Regions from separate parts of the Homo sapiens genome. Here all the other regions are linked to region 4. The links are contacts of gene promoters, found by promoter capture Hi-C in blood cells and fetal thymus (Javierre and others, 2016). All regions are on one chromosome and are shown on one strand. Each heading gives the region's core, a stretch centred on a gene start or on the middle of the fragment in contact. The rest is flanking DNA. Distances are from core to core; before and after follow the strand shown. Region 1 overlaps LOC105375457 (a long non-coding RNA gene). Region 2 has its middle 39 kb from the start of IFRD1. Region 3 holds the start of ZNF277-AS1 (ZNF277 antisense RNA 1). Region 4 holds the start of DOCK4-AS1 (DOCK4 antisense RNA 1).

Evidence for each region. Contacts are between HindIII fragments. The CHiCAGO score rates a contact against its expected background, and 5 or more counts as called.
Region 1: a contact is called between a fragment that was not itself captured here and the fragment with the promoter of DOCK4-AS1 in region 4, in 3 of 17 cell types (endothelial precursors, M1 macrophages and M0 macrophages). The highest score is 12.4, in endothelial precursors.
Region 2: a fragment that was not itself captured here is called in contact with the fragment with the promoter of DOCK4-AS1 in region 4 in 3 of 17 cell types (endothelial precursors, M0 macrophages and M1 macrophages); the score reaches 10.3 in endothelial precursors.
Region 3: a fragment that was not itself captured here is called in contact with the fragment with the promoter of DOCK4-AS1 in region 4 in 2 of 17 cell types (M1 macrophages and M0 macrophages); the score reaches 6.6 in M1 macrophages.

The regions. Positions count from the first base shown.
Region 1 is chr7:112,428,667-112,431,519 of GRCh38, forward strand. LOC105375457 (a long non-coding RNA gene) reads right to left here. Exons shown (of 3, transcript XR_001745325.2): 3 at 1-2,853. It also overlaps a transcript of IFRD1 not described here. Among named protein-coding and RNA genes, the nearest start is that of IFRD1, 20 kb to the right of the region's middle. The HindIII fragment of the contact is 2,509 bases long and covers 1-2,506 here.
Region 2 is chr7:112,409,891-112,412,826 of GRCh38, forward strand. No RefSeq gene overlaps it. Among named protein-coding and RNA genes, the nearest start is that of IFRD1, 39 kb to the right of the region's middle. The HindIII fragment of the contact is 5,468 bases long and covers 1-2,936 here.
Region 3 is chr7:112,349,772-112,352,920 of GRCh38, forward strand. It overlaps ZNF277-AS1 (ZNF277 antisense RNA 1), which reads right to left and starts at 770. Exons shown (of 3, transcript NR_186626.1): 1 at 693-770. The HindIII fragment of the contact is 1,570 bases long and covers 1,052-2,621 here.
Region 4 is chr7:111,806,624-111,809,788 of GRCh38, forward strand. It overlaps DOCK4-AS1 (DOCK4 antisense RNA 1), which reads left to right and starts at 1,882. Exons shown (of 2, transcript NR_103806.1): 1 at 1,882-1,990. DOCK4 (dedicator of cytokinesis 4) reads right to left here. Exons shown (of 53, transcript NM_001363540.2): 29 at 2,678-2,778; 30 at 2,198-2,256. The HindIII fragment of the contact is 9,376 bases long and covers 159-3,165 here.

The sequences.
Region 1 (2,853 bases), core at 2-2,501, 620 kb after region 4:
TTAACCTTCAGACTCCTTTCCTTGCATGAAGCCATTCAAAGGCTCTGGGAAGGGCCCTAGCAAATTTTGTATACTTGAATCTGTATTCTTTTTCTTAAACAGAGCCCCTACCCTTTTAAAGCTGGTATTAGCTTCAGACACACAAAACCTGAATCCACCCTGCCCGTCCCCTTTCAAGTCATCTTTCTTATTACCAGTAGATTAATCTTCCTCAAAACAAAACGTTGACATCATGTCAATCCTCTTCTCAAAAGCTATTGTCATCATGACAACAGACTTTATTAACTTGACAGTTTTACTTTGGGGTGGCCCTTTACTGCCTCTAAAATTCATCTCCCTACAAATCTTTCTAGTTCAGAAAAGTAACTTTGACCTGTCTGTCCAAAAGCAGGAAAATAATTTACAAATGTTTGAACTCTTTGGTTCTTAGACCTATCTACCAATTGAGTTGCCTTAGTTGCAATTACTCCGTTGTACTTTCTTGTTTGTCTCCCATATTCTTGCTTTGTTTTTATCCCAATTGTGGCTTTTTCTACTTTAAAACACTTGCCTAATCTCAAACCTGGCTATTCAGTTGTGTTTGGCATGTCTTGTACCTAAAGAAACCACTGGCCTATGCACACATCACTCTGTATCATAGTCGTTGGGCACATCCAGCATGTGATTACACTTTAGAATTCTGTTTTTGGTCACGTTAAGTCAAAGGCAATTTGCACTCTAGAATGTTCATTCAGATGTATAAATCTTTGAACATCAGTTATTCAATAGTTCCAATATTTGGAACACAGCATGCTGTCATCTGCAGTCACAGAGGTGTGCTGGACCATTCTCACATCTGAAAGAAGAGTTGTCTTTGTTGTTCACCACATTGCCACCTGATAAATGGCTTCTAAGGATTTTCCTGCAATCTGAACAGCTGCTACTCTGTGTATGAAAAATCTAATTTTACTTTGTAAGATTTCTTCCCATAATGTCCCGTCTGCTTCAACAGATTCTCACTCAGACACACTAAAATGGGACTCATGATATCAATTTAATATTTTAGCAATTTCAATAAACAAGGCATATTCTTTTTTCTTTCGGGATAAGGCAGGCCTAGCATCTTCCTAAAAAAGAATATACTCTGCAACCTCATGTTACAAAAATTGCAGCTTGGTTAAGTTTTCTATTGATAGTCCTTCAGTTTTTCTTATAAGAGCATAACTCATGAGAAAAGTTGTTATATAAATAAAATATAGAATGTTACTATTAGAAGACACTTCTGAGCCATAGAGCATAGTGCTGATGTTTCAGTCAGCACTTTCTCATCTCCCTTCTTCTCAGCTTCTTCCTACTTCTTTATCCTCTCCATGTCTGTTCCATGTTGGCAGATACAAATCAGAGGTATGGTGGGGTTGACAGCACCTGCAGAGCCCTAAGGGCTTCTTCTCTTGGATAAAAGGACTTGGAGCTGCCCACTCTCATTCCACAGAGGGAGTTAGGAGCCAAGGAAAGCAAAAAATTGTAATCAGCAACGTAGAAAAGATGCAACCTGAGGCAGGTGAAGGATTTGGGAGCCCAATTCTTTTTTAGGAAAATGCTGTTTTCTATATCATAATTCCCTTCTGTTATCCCAAGCCTCCTGATTGTTGTGGTACTTCAGGGATTCAGGGATGGGCATGTGTCAGTGCCGGGAATACAGCAGATAGGGAAGCCTGGCAACAATCTGGAAGGTGGTTCTGAGATGGCCAGGGGTGGCCTGCTGAAGACTGGAGCAGCAGTCTAGCTCTTAGCTGAAGGGACAAGCAGTAGCTAGGGAAGATGTGTGGAACAGGTAAGCATTCCTTGGGGATTTTCAGAAGCACTTAGGAAGGAGAACCTGGTAAAAGTCTAAACTTCCTTTTCATCACAAATGACATGAGCCCTGATTTTTGTTGCCCTGGGAACACTAGAAAATAGAGAAGTCTTTCACATCTGGCCTACCCAAAATAAACCTTCGTGAGCCCATGTCCAGGAATGGGGCTAATTCTCTGCTTCTCTTCCACACATATGTTCACTCCTAACTACTTTTCATCCCCTTTCTATCTCTGTTCATTTTGGGGTTGACCAAGTGGGTGGACTAGACTAAAGGGAGCCAGAAGGATCACCTACTGCAGTTTGCTACTCCGCCAGAAGTGGCCTGGGGTACTCATACAGCCTGGGGCCTGATGTAGAAGATTCTCCCAGCATCATGTTTCACCTAGGTCAGCACCGTGTTCCCCAGCTAATTGATACAGAAGCTCCCCAAAGGCCAGTGAGAGTGGAAGGACCATTCCTTTGAGCTCCTCCTTTCTTCTTCTTTCTTGCCTCATCCTTCTCCTCCCCTCCCTCCCACCTTCTTTTCTTCATGTGTCCTTGATCCTAGAACATTTTCTGCTTATTATTTTTCGAGCGTATTGCTGTTACTACCAGTATCCTGTGTATCCTGTTGTGGCCAGAAAGCTACTGACACCATTAGTGCTTTACAGGGCACAAAGGGAGCTAAGGAAGCTTAAGGCTAGACTAGGAGGTTTCTGTCTTGCTCTTTTGGCTAGAAATTATTATACGAAGACATATACTATTGTTTTAACTATATGTCATATTATATATTTTGAATTAAGATTGATTGGTCTCAATATATAAATATGTGGTAACAAAATTCAAATTTGATAATTCAGCATAACAGTTCAGGACTTTTTCCTCCTCTTGAGAAACAGGACTCTGCTACTACCTATGGAGTCTACTCTCTTATCTGTGTTGGAGAACATGAATGACATGCATCAGTTTGGAATATTTTAGGTGAAATCACCTAGAAGCCAGGTTTTGGATGAGGTGTGGTATGATCATTTAACTTTA
Region 2 (2,936 bases), core at 113-2,612, 600 kb after region 4:
CTTCACTGAACTATACTCTTAATATTTTTATACTTTTCTGTATGTATGCTAGACTTCAATAAAAATGCTTGTTTAAGCATTTTCAAAATAATCTTGTATTGAGAGTTACCCTTATCTTAGCTTTAAATTGCTTTGCTACAATCTTTGACAAGTTTAGGAACACATATATGTGAAGGGAGCTCCTTTACCTACATGAGGACCTAACTTGGGGTTCTTTTAAAGCAGTGGTAAGCACATAGTTAAATGACTTGGGGGGCTTATTTGCAGTCACCATTAACTAAAATAATGAGGCAACTTCTGTGTACCCTGGAGAGTCTAACAGAAAACAGAGGTTTTCAAGGGCTCCAGGCTGCATGTGAAAAAATCCCAGCAGCTAAGAGCTTGTAATTTGACATGAGAGTAATGCATATTTGGTTTAGTTTCGTAACTTCAGACTTTTTGAACCAGTTTTTTAAAACAGACATATATGAACTCTCTGAAATCAAGATGATAAGTCATCTGAACTGAAGAGTAAGCTAAATGACTGAAGAGCACTTTGTCATCTCAAATGGAAATATTTGGGGACCCTTTTTCTTAAATACTAAAGACAATGAAAAATGCCTTAGTTTTTTTGAATTTTACTTCTCACTAATCGCTGCCTCAGAGATTGTGTCTGTGATAGAAATAAAAACTTGTCTTTGGGAAGATGAGTGTGTATTTCTAGGTATCCTGCTGGTGCCTTAGCAATTGTTCTGTAAACCCAGCAGCGTTGCCCCCCAACCCCCCCAACTATTCTGGGTACCAATGGTAACACCTATGCCTTGGTTGAAAACTCCCACCATCACCTGGAGAAACTCTTTTATCTCACTGGATGGCCTTGAAAGTCAAGCCACATCCTTGTTGTCTTCTCTGGGTATTTTCTTTTTAAAGTAGGAAGGACAGTTCGGGAAGGTGACCTTCTGATGCAGCTCTTCACAGTTTAACATGAGGCGTAACAGCTGTGTCCTGTGAAATAAGCAACTTCTCCAAACAAGCAACAGTCCTTATTCATCATTCAGATTTTCAGAGGGAGATAAAAATCACTACTTGAAGTTAGCAATGGGTTAACCAAATTTGCAGACCACTCATTTTAACTTATTGTATAACTGTGCGATCTAGAAGGTGGAAAGACACAGTGTAATGGCTTATAGAGGAGATTATAAGAATTAGCTCATAGGTTAAAGATTTTCTGATGAGTTACAAAATGGATTTCACTCACAGGGGCAAATCTCTCTCATAATCCTTGAGGCATTGTACAAAAAAATAAAAAAGCACAGTTACTTTATGCACAATAGTTTTGACATTTTATCAGCATGCAATTAAAATCCCTTTGTCTAAAGTTCTGGTTCTAAATTCTTGAACAGATAGAAGCCCAGAAAGGACTGTGTTATGCATTTTAGAAAGAAGAAATTAATTTGACAACTCATAGAGTTTCGTCCTGGGAGGGAGCGAGTAGTGCGGTGCTGCACTCTATGGGCTGCTGCAGAAACATACAGGATGCATTTTGTCTATCTGCCAAGAAAGTCTTCCCGAGGAAATATCTTCAATCAATTCTCTGGAATAATCTGGCAGCCTGCTCAACACAGATTCTTCTTTCAACAGAAAGAAAAGAGAAATACAATAAATTAAGCAATAGAGGGGAAAAGTAGAACTTAAATATGTTAAAACTCCTCTGGTGGGTGCTGTAGACTGAAAGTTTATGTCTCCTGCAAAATTCATATCGTGAAGCCCTAACCCCTAAATGTGATGGTATTAGTGGGTGGGGCCCTTGGGAAGTAATGAGGGTGAAGCCTCATGAATGGGATTAGTGCCCTTATAAGAGGAAGAAGAGACCACGGACTTCTCTCTCTCTTCACTATGAGGATGCCGCAAGAAGGCAGCCATCTGTAAGCCCAAAAGAGGGCCCTCACCAGAACCCAAGCAGCTGGCACCTTGACCTTGGACTTCCCAGCTTCCAGAACTGTGAGAAATAAATGTTTGTTGTTTAAGTCACCCAGTCTATGGTATATTGTTATAGTAGCCCCAATTGACTAAGACAAAGGTGTTTAAGTGAAGTGAAGAAGAAGTGAAGTGAGGAAAAGGAAAACAACAGGAAAAGCAAGTTGCTGTTGCTCACACATTCAAAAACCAACTTGGATTTGTTCAAGTAGAAAAATCCAGGCAATCATAGACAAATGCCCCAACTTGGAGTTTGGGTGTATATTGCAATGGCATGGATATAAAAAGGAAAGCACAATGGTGTGTTTCCCCCATTGGCTTATCTGGTTTCCGATAATGAAAAAGAGTTTCACAAGCCAGTGTTTGCTCTTCATTAGAACACAGAATGAGACAAACAACGGTTCTGTGTGACTAGATTGTCTGCACTTGAAAGTTTGAATGCCAGAGGTTCTTTTGGGATGTGGCATTAACATGCACTTTAATCTTCTAGGACTTCATCAAATCAGGGAAACGTGCAAAATAGGAGAGAAAACACTTAAACATTAAAAAGGCATCAATTCATTTAATTTATTTAGATATATACTGACAATATGGTCTTTAGATATTATCATTGGTATATACATTTGAATTGGCTTTTTCCCCTCCATTTGGGAGCAGTTTTGCTGATATAGTTTTACTTTTTTTCTCAGATTTCACATGATCAAGAGTATGCCACTGCTGGTTAGATGGGACTGTGATGGATGTCTGATTTTAACAAAATTTGTTCTAAACTAGACTCGTGTCCTTGACCTTCGCCTTATTACCTCCATTCTCTACTAAAGTCATTATAAATTACTCTTAAATGCTAATTTTCTCTCAGTTCCAAAGATTCCTAGAGTATAGAAAAGTACTGAAGAAAGGGTCTTAGAAATGGGCTTGCTTGATTTCCTAATTTTAGTATTGAAAATCATGTGTCCTGGATTATAATCTATGGCTCCCCA
Region 3 (3,149 bases), core at 587-3,086, 540 kb after region 4:
ACATAGAACTAAGGCTGGACAAAATAAAGCCAGAGAGCTGATAGCTTGGATATCATTGTGAGCTAGTTAGACATAGACTTTCTGAAAAACCATCAGTACTAGGGTCTTAACTTGTTGAGTCCCACAAACAGCCTTGAGAAAGAATTTTAGTGCTTAGTGCAGGTCATTTTTTTAAGAGGTAAACCCGGAATATACCGGTTCAGGAAGTAGGAGAGTGAAAAATGCAAAAACAAAAAACAAAAACCATGAAACTGTATATTAAGGAAGAAGTTGCTGGTATGGGAACTAGGACTCAACCTCACTGAGGACCTCTGGGAGATTGCACAGAACACTATTCTTACAGTTGCCCCACAACACCCCCCGCCGCCCCCTCACTACCACCACCAAGGGGCAAAAAAGCTAGGCCATTCACCCACTCCCATTGGTCATGGGTTGAGGGCTGTTCCCAGGGGCAGTATTAATTCCCTGGCACTTCCAGCTTGCCTCACACATTGATTTAGCATCCTCTGAAGGTAGGGGAAGGCCCTCACACAAAGACTGAGAAACTGTTATTGCAAAAAAGAACTGGCAGATCATGACAGTAACTGCTACAAATCTAGGTGTTGTGTCACCACAGAAGAAAACATTTTATGTAAGGCTCAGTGGTCCTCACAGCTTTTCTATCTCACTTGACAATGAAGATACAATCTTACAAGGTGTCTAGCCAGGAATTTTATCTTCATCAAGGGTAAAGAGACGATGGGAAACAGGATCAGAGAGATGAGGACCTGCCAAAAGAAAAAAGCACAACAAAGTGACATCCAACAATATAATATATGGGAATTTAAAATGAGACAAAGCCAAGTCCTGAGCTTTTTTAATGAATGGAGGAAAAGCAATTCTTTGAGAGGATGGAGTAGAACATGCACTCAGAACAAGAATAAATGTTTTAATGTCAGTACTTTGCTGAATGTATATGCAGAATTGACAGACTCCATCCATTTCCATCAAGGGCATCAAATTTCAACTATTGTTTGCTTAGTCTGCAAAAATAGCCACCCTGCATCCTTGAAGCTTAATTCAACTCCTTCAGTAAGTTTTAGATGATGGGTAGTTAAAGGATTAAACTGCTGCAGTTGAACTCTTATGCCTTATAATTGATATATTGAAAGGCTAAAGCATGTTCGATTCCTGATGATAGCAATCTGCAGTGGCATCATAAGCACATTAAATTCAGACTGAAACATTCAGCGAAGTTAATATTGACTTCACAATGTTCTAAGATGTAAGTGAAGCTATGCTCTTTTTGCCTTATAAAATTAGACTGCAAAAAAACAATTTTTGAGGATATTCCCAGTCAATTGACTTGGTTACAGAGTGAGCAGGAAATCAAACTCTAGTTAAGTTCATAGATACTGGTGTTTTATTCATTTGGAAACAGAAGAGAAAAAGAGTATGCTGTAGTAAATTGTTTATAAATTCTTTTTAATTCTAAAGGAGGGGGAGAAAGTGAAAGTAAAAAGCAAACATTATTAATCTCTTACTGTCACAAAAAAAACAACCCACTCTTACACCTCCATCATTGCCTAAAAGACAAAAACTCCAAAGACTGGCATTTGAGACTCCTCACAGTCTGCCAAAACTGCCTCCTCCCTCGTCAGGTCAGTCACCAAGTCCTTTCAGTTCTATCTCCAAACACATCTCAGTCCCTGCCACCATGGTCTGTTATCTGAACTACTATAACAGTTTCCTAACTGGCCTCCCTCCTTCCTCTCTGGACCCTCCAGTGTGTTCCTTCGTAACAGCTAGAGTGGATTTTTAAAAGTCCTCCCATGGAGTTGGAGACCAGCCTGGCCAACATGGTGAAACCCCGTCTCTACCAAAAATAATAAAATTAGCTGGGCATGGTGGTGCACACTTGTAATCCCAGCTACTTGAGAGGCAGAGGTGGGAGGATCACTTGAACCCCGGAGGTGGAGGCTGCAGTGAATTGAGATTGTGCCACTGCACTCCAGCCTGGGTGACAGAGTGAGACTCCATCTCAAAAAAAAAAAAAAAAATCCTCACATGGTGTAACGGACCTTCTCGGTTACTTACCCAGCATCCATTCTCCTTTCTTTCTTTCCTTATAGTTTTCCAATTCTTTGGGGAGCCACTCTACCCTCATTAAGTAACAGCCATGCCATTTGGAATTGACCCCAGCCCTACCTCCAGGGGGAGGGGAGTGCTGACTAGAGTAATAACTTCACCCTCACTGCAGACTGGCTTATTGGATTAGAGATGGGCAGTAACTAAACCCAAGTCAAAGGTGCATAGCAAGCCTGGGTCACTGTGGCCAGTCCAGGTTGCTCCAATCAGGGAGAAGCTGAAGATTTCTGCTAAATGACTCAGAGAAACTAAGACTCCCTTTCCTTATGAAAAAACAAACCCGTACCCTAGTTGCTGCCAAAGCCGTCAAGTGGCGTTGAGAGAAACTAGCCCAAGAACTTTCAGAGAAGAGCAAAATCAAGATAATTTCTGAGGAAGGAGCCAGAGCCCTCACCTGAGAGCTGTCCTCCTCTGGATTTCTCATTTAGTCGGGCCATAAACTCCCCTTGTATTATTTGAACTTTTTAAGTGGAGTTTCTATTACTCACAATAAAAGCTTCCCAGCTGATACAAATGGCTTCCAGTTGAACATGGAATCAAGTCTAAACTTTCTTTTTCTTCTTTTTTGAGACAGAGTCTCGCTGTGTTATCCAGGCTGGAGTGCAGTGGTGCGATCTCGGCTCACTGCAACCTCCATCTCCCTGATTCAAGCGATTGTCCCACTTCAGCCTCCTGAGTAGCTGGGATTACAGGCATGCGCAACCATGCTGAGCTAATTTTTGTAATTTTGATAGAGACTGGATTTCGCCATGTTGGCCAGGCTGGTCTCGAACTCCTGGCCTCAAGTGATCCACCCATCTTGGCCTCCTAAAATGCTGGGATTACAGGTATGAACCACTATGCCCGGCCTCTACATGACCCACATATCTTCCATCTTGTCCCATGCCATTTTCTGGAGTGCCCACTATTCCCCAGGCAACCAGGCCTCCTTCTGCTCCTTGGACAGGAGACTGCACTTTTCTCTGCCTCAGTGTTTTTGCATGTTTTTCTCTCTGTATATTCTTGCCCCTCCTCTTTACAGT
Region 4 (3,165 bases), core at 632-3,131:
ACAAAGAAAGAGGATAAACTAAAGCAGTGCTTTTCAGTTTTTAGCTAAGTACATAAGAATCACCTGGAAAACTTGCTAAAACAGACTGCTGTGCCCCAATCCCAGAGATTGTGTTTCAGTAGGTCTAAGGTGGAGTGAGAGATTTTGCATTTCTTACAAGCTTCCAAGGATGCTGATGCTACAGTATAACAAAATACTGCATTATAGGTATTGATATGCTCCAGAAATTTTCCATATTCTCTAGATCTCTGAGAAAAACAGAGAAGCAATTTAACATAAAAACCAGAGAGGCAGAAATAGTTTCATTTTAGAAGAAAGACAAAATACAGGATAAAAGTTTATGAAGTATACAGTGACATGTTTAGGGAGATTACATGTGACAGCTTTATTTAGCAGCCCAAGGGTCATGGGCCTAAATGCATAGCTATTATGGTTTGGATACAGGTTTATGTGGAAATAACCATAGATGGCAATGCTGAGATGTATCTAGAACAGAAACTGGTCATTCTTTTTTAACATTCTTGTAACCGAACAGAATCTGTCCTGCTCTCATAATTTGAGCCCAGAAAAGAGCTTACACAACCACAAGTGCATTCAAACAGATTCAATGCAGCATTCTTTCAAAAACATCTTGCTAAATTAATGTCGAATGCAATATGGACACTACAAGGGCCTTGATCTTCTTTAGGAAAAACAAGGACACAAAGAATCAATGAAACCTGAAAACACTGAAGACTAAGAAGAGCAGTCTCCAAATAAGAAAACTATTTTTGAGCTGCAACTAAAGACAGACCATGATATCTTCTGGCTGGCCTTACATAGTTGAAGGTTGTTTTCAAGATGATAACTCTTTTTTTTTTTTTTTTGAGTCAGAGTCTCACTCTGTCACCCAGGCTGATGGAGTGCAATGGAGCGATCTTGGTTCACTGCAACCTCCACCTCCCAGGTTCAAGTGATTCTCCTGCCTCAGCCTCCCAAGTAGCTGAGATTACAGGCACCCCCCCACCACGCCTGGCTAATTTTTGTATTTTTAGTAAAGACAGGGTTTCACCATGTTGGCCAGGCTAGTCTCAAACTCCTGACCTCAAGTGATCTGCCCGCTCCAGGCTCCCAAAGTGCTGGGATTACAGGCATGAGCCATTGCTCCCAGCTTCATTATTTTTTTTTATTTTTTATTTTTTCTGAAATCACCAGCAAGCATTGAACACTGGGCTTAATTATATATACCAAGGCTCCCTCAAGTTGTTATGTATATTTGAGGAATATACATACCCTATTAAAAAAAAATCACCCTGTAATGATCCTGGTCAAAAATCAGTCTGTTAACATGAGTGGAAGTAAAACAATAATGGTTCTATTTTCATTCACAGAAAATAAATCCTTCCAATCTCCAAGTTGTACTTGGATAAGCCCAAGAGAAAAGATATTTTCAGGTCATTACGTATTCAACTCAAATAGGTCAATCATTTTAATAAATCAAAGAGGAGCATTAAGATGCAGTAATAGTAAATGAATACTAAAAACCTGCATAGTTAACATACCAAATGAAATAACTTATAAATCTCTAGAAAGGGACCCTATGCCAATGAATTTTAAAACAATTTGTTTTCCAAATATTACTGTTTTCTATGCAACCAGATCTGTACCATCAATTTTCTGGAATAATATACTCTATCTGCTATAGCAGATTAACAAAATTGGATCCAACAGTTTCTTAGCAACTGCAGATGCTTTTAAAATCCTTTGGCTATACTCTTTATGATATAGGACAATGGTCTCAAGTTTTTAAGAGTAGTGACGTTCAAGTCAATGTTTCATGAAGTTTAACCTAAATTTATTATGATTCATAGCTTCAACTCAGAGTTCTAGAAATTTTGAGTTGTTACAGTTCCAAATTCTGAAAGGTTGCCTCATCGCTGGAAATATGTGTAATGTTGGAGCAATGCTAGATTATAAAATTTATCGTTAATTAATAATGAAACACACAAAGGTAAGGTGACTTTTCTTAGAGACCAATTTAAAGAATTTGTTGTAACCTCATTCAATGCCAAAGTGTCAATTACTTTCTATAGATGTTTATTGATTTAGACATTTGGTTTCACATGGTGTCACTGGTAAATTGCCTTTCTTCATTTGTACACTTCAAGGTACAGCGAGGAGCTGTATAGTAGATGTGGCTTCTCTTTTCCTCACTTACCTAGGTTTTGCCACATGCTGAAAATTTCACAACCCATTGTTACCCGCATGTCACCATACCTGAAATAGAACAAAAAACCAAACCTGATACAATGCCTCCAGAACAAGGAAGTATTTGTGTGTCTTTAGGATACAATCTATCATTCTGAATTACAAGGCAAGGAGTTTTTAATTAAAGACATTTAATATACATGTCACGATGCCTCTAAGTCAAATTCTGGTGTAAACCTTTTAGTAAAAGAGATCTGTTTCATAATTTTTTGCATCTATAGAAATTTTGAATCCTGAAAGAGCCAGGTCAAAACAATGTGCAAACATGTTTGAAATATCAAAACATCCAGAAAAGACTGCTTCTTGACCCCTTGGTCACTGGTTCTTCACTGTGTGATTTCCAGTTATGCGCATTCTGATTTATGAATCATTTGAACTAAATACTCTTTAAGAGGCAACATTTCTCACCTGATTATACACTGATACTTACTTTTCTAACACCTTTTTCTTCTTGGAAGGTGTGAACATCTCCAACTGCAGACACAACTGGTTTATAAAAATGACTGCGAGGTAAAAGTAGGAATCCCAGATCTAAAACAAGAACAAGATATATCAATACTATGGTGTTACAAGCATATTGACAGGTGAAGTGACATAGTATTTTGGATTTGCTTCAAAAGTGGTTGAGGGTATAGTTGAAGTAAGACTGACCATGAGTTGATAATAGTTGAAGCTGGATATGGGTACCTCATGGGGGTTCATTATACTATTCTCTCTACTTGTACATATGCTTAAAATTTTCTAAAGTGAAGAAGTAACTAAATAAATAAGTACTATTATTATCTAGGTGTATATTGCTCCAAAGCTGTATTCCAGGTTTCACGAGCTTTTTGGTATATGCTAAAAGACAGATGCGTGGTTTCTCTTGTAATATGTCTGAGTATCTCCAAGAGGATGAGGTATAAGATGGATTTCTTT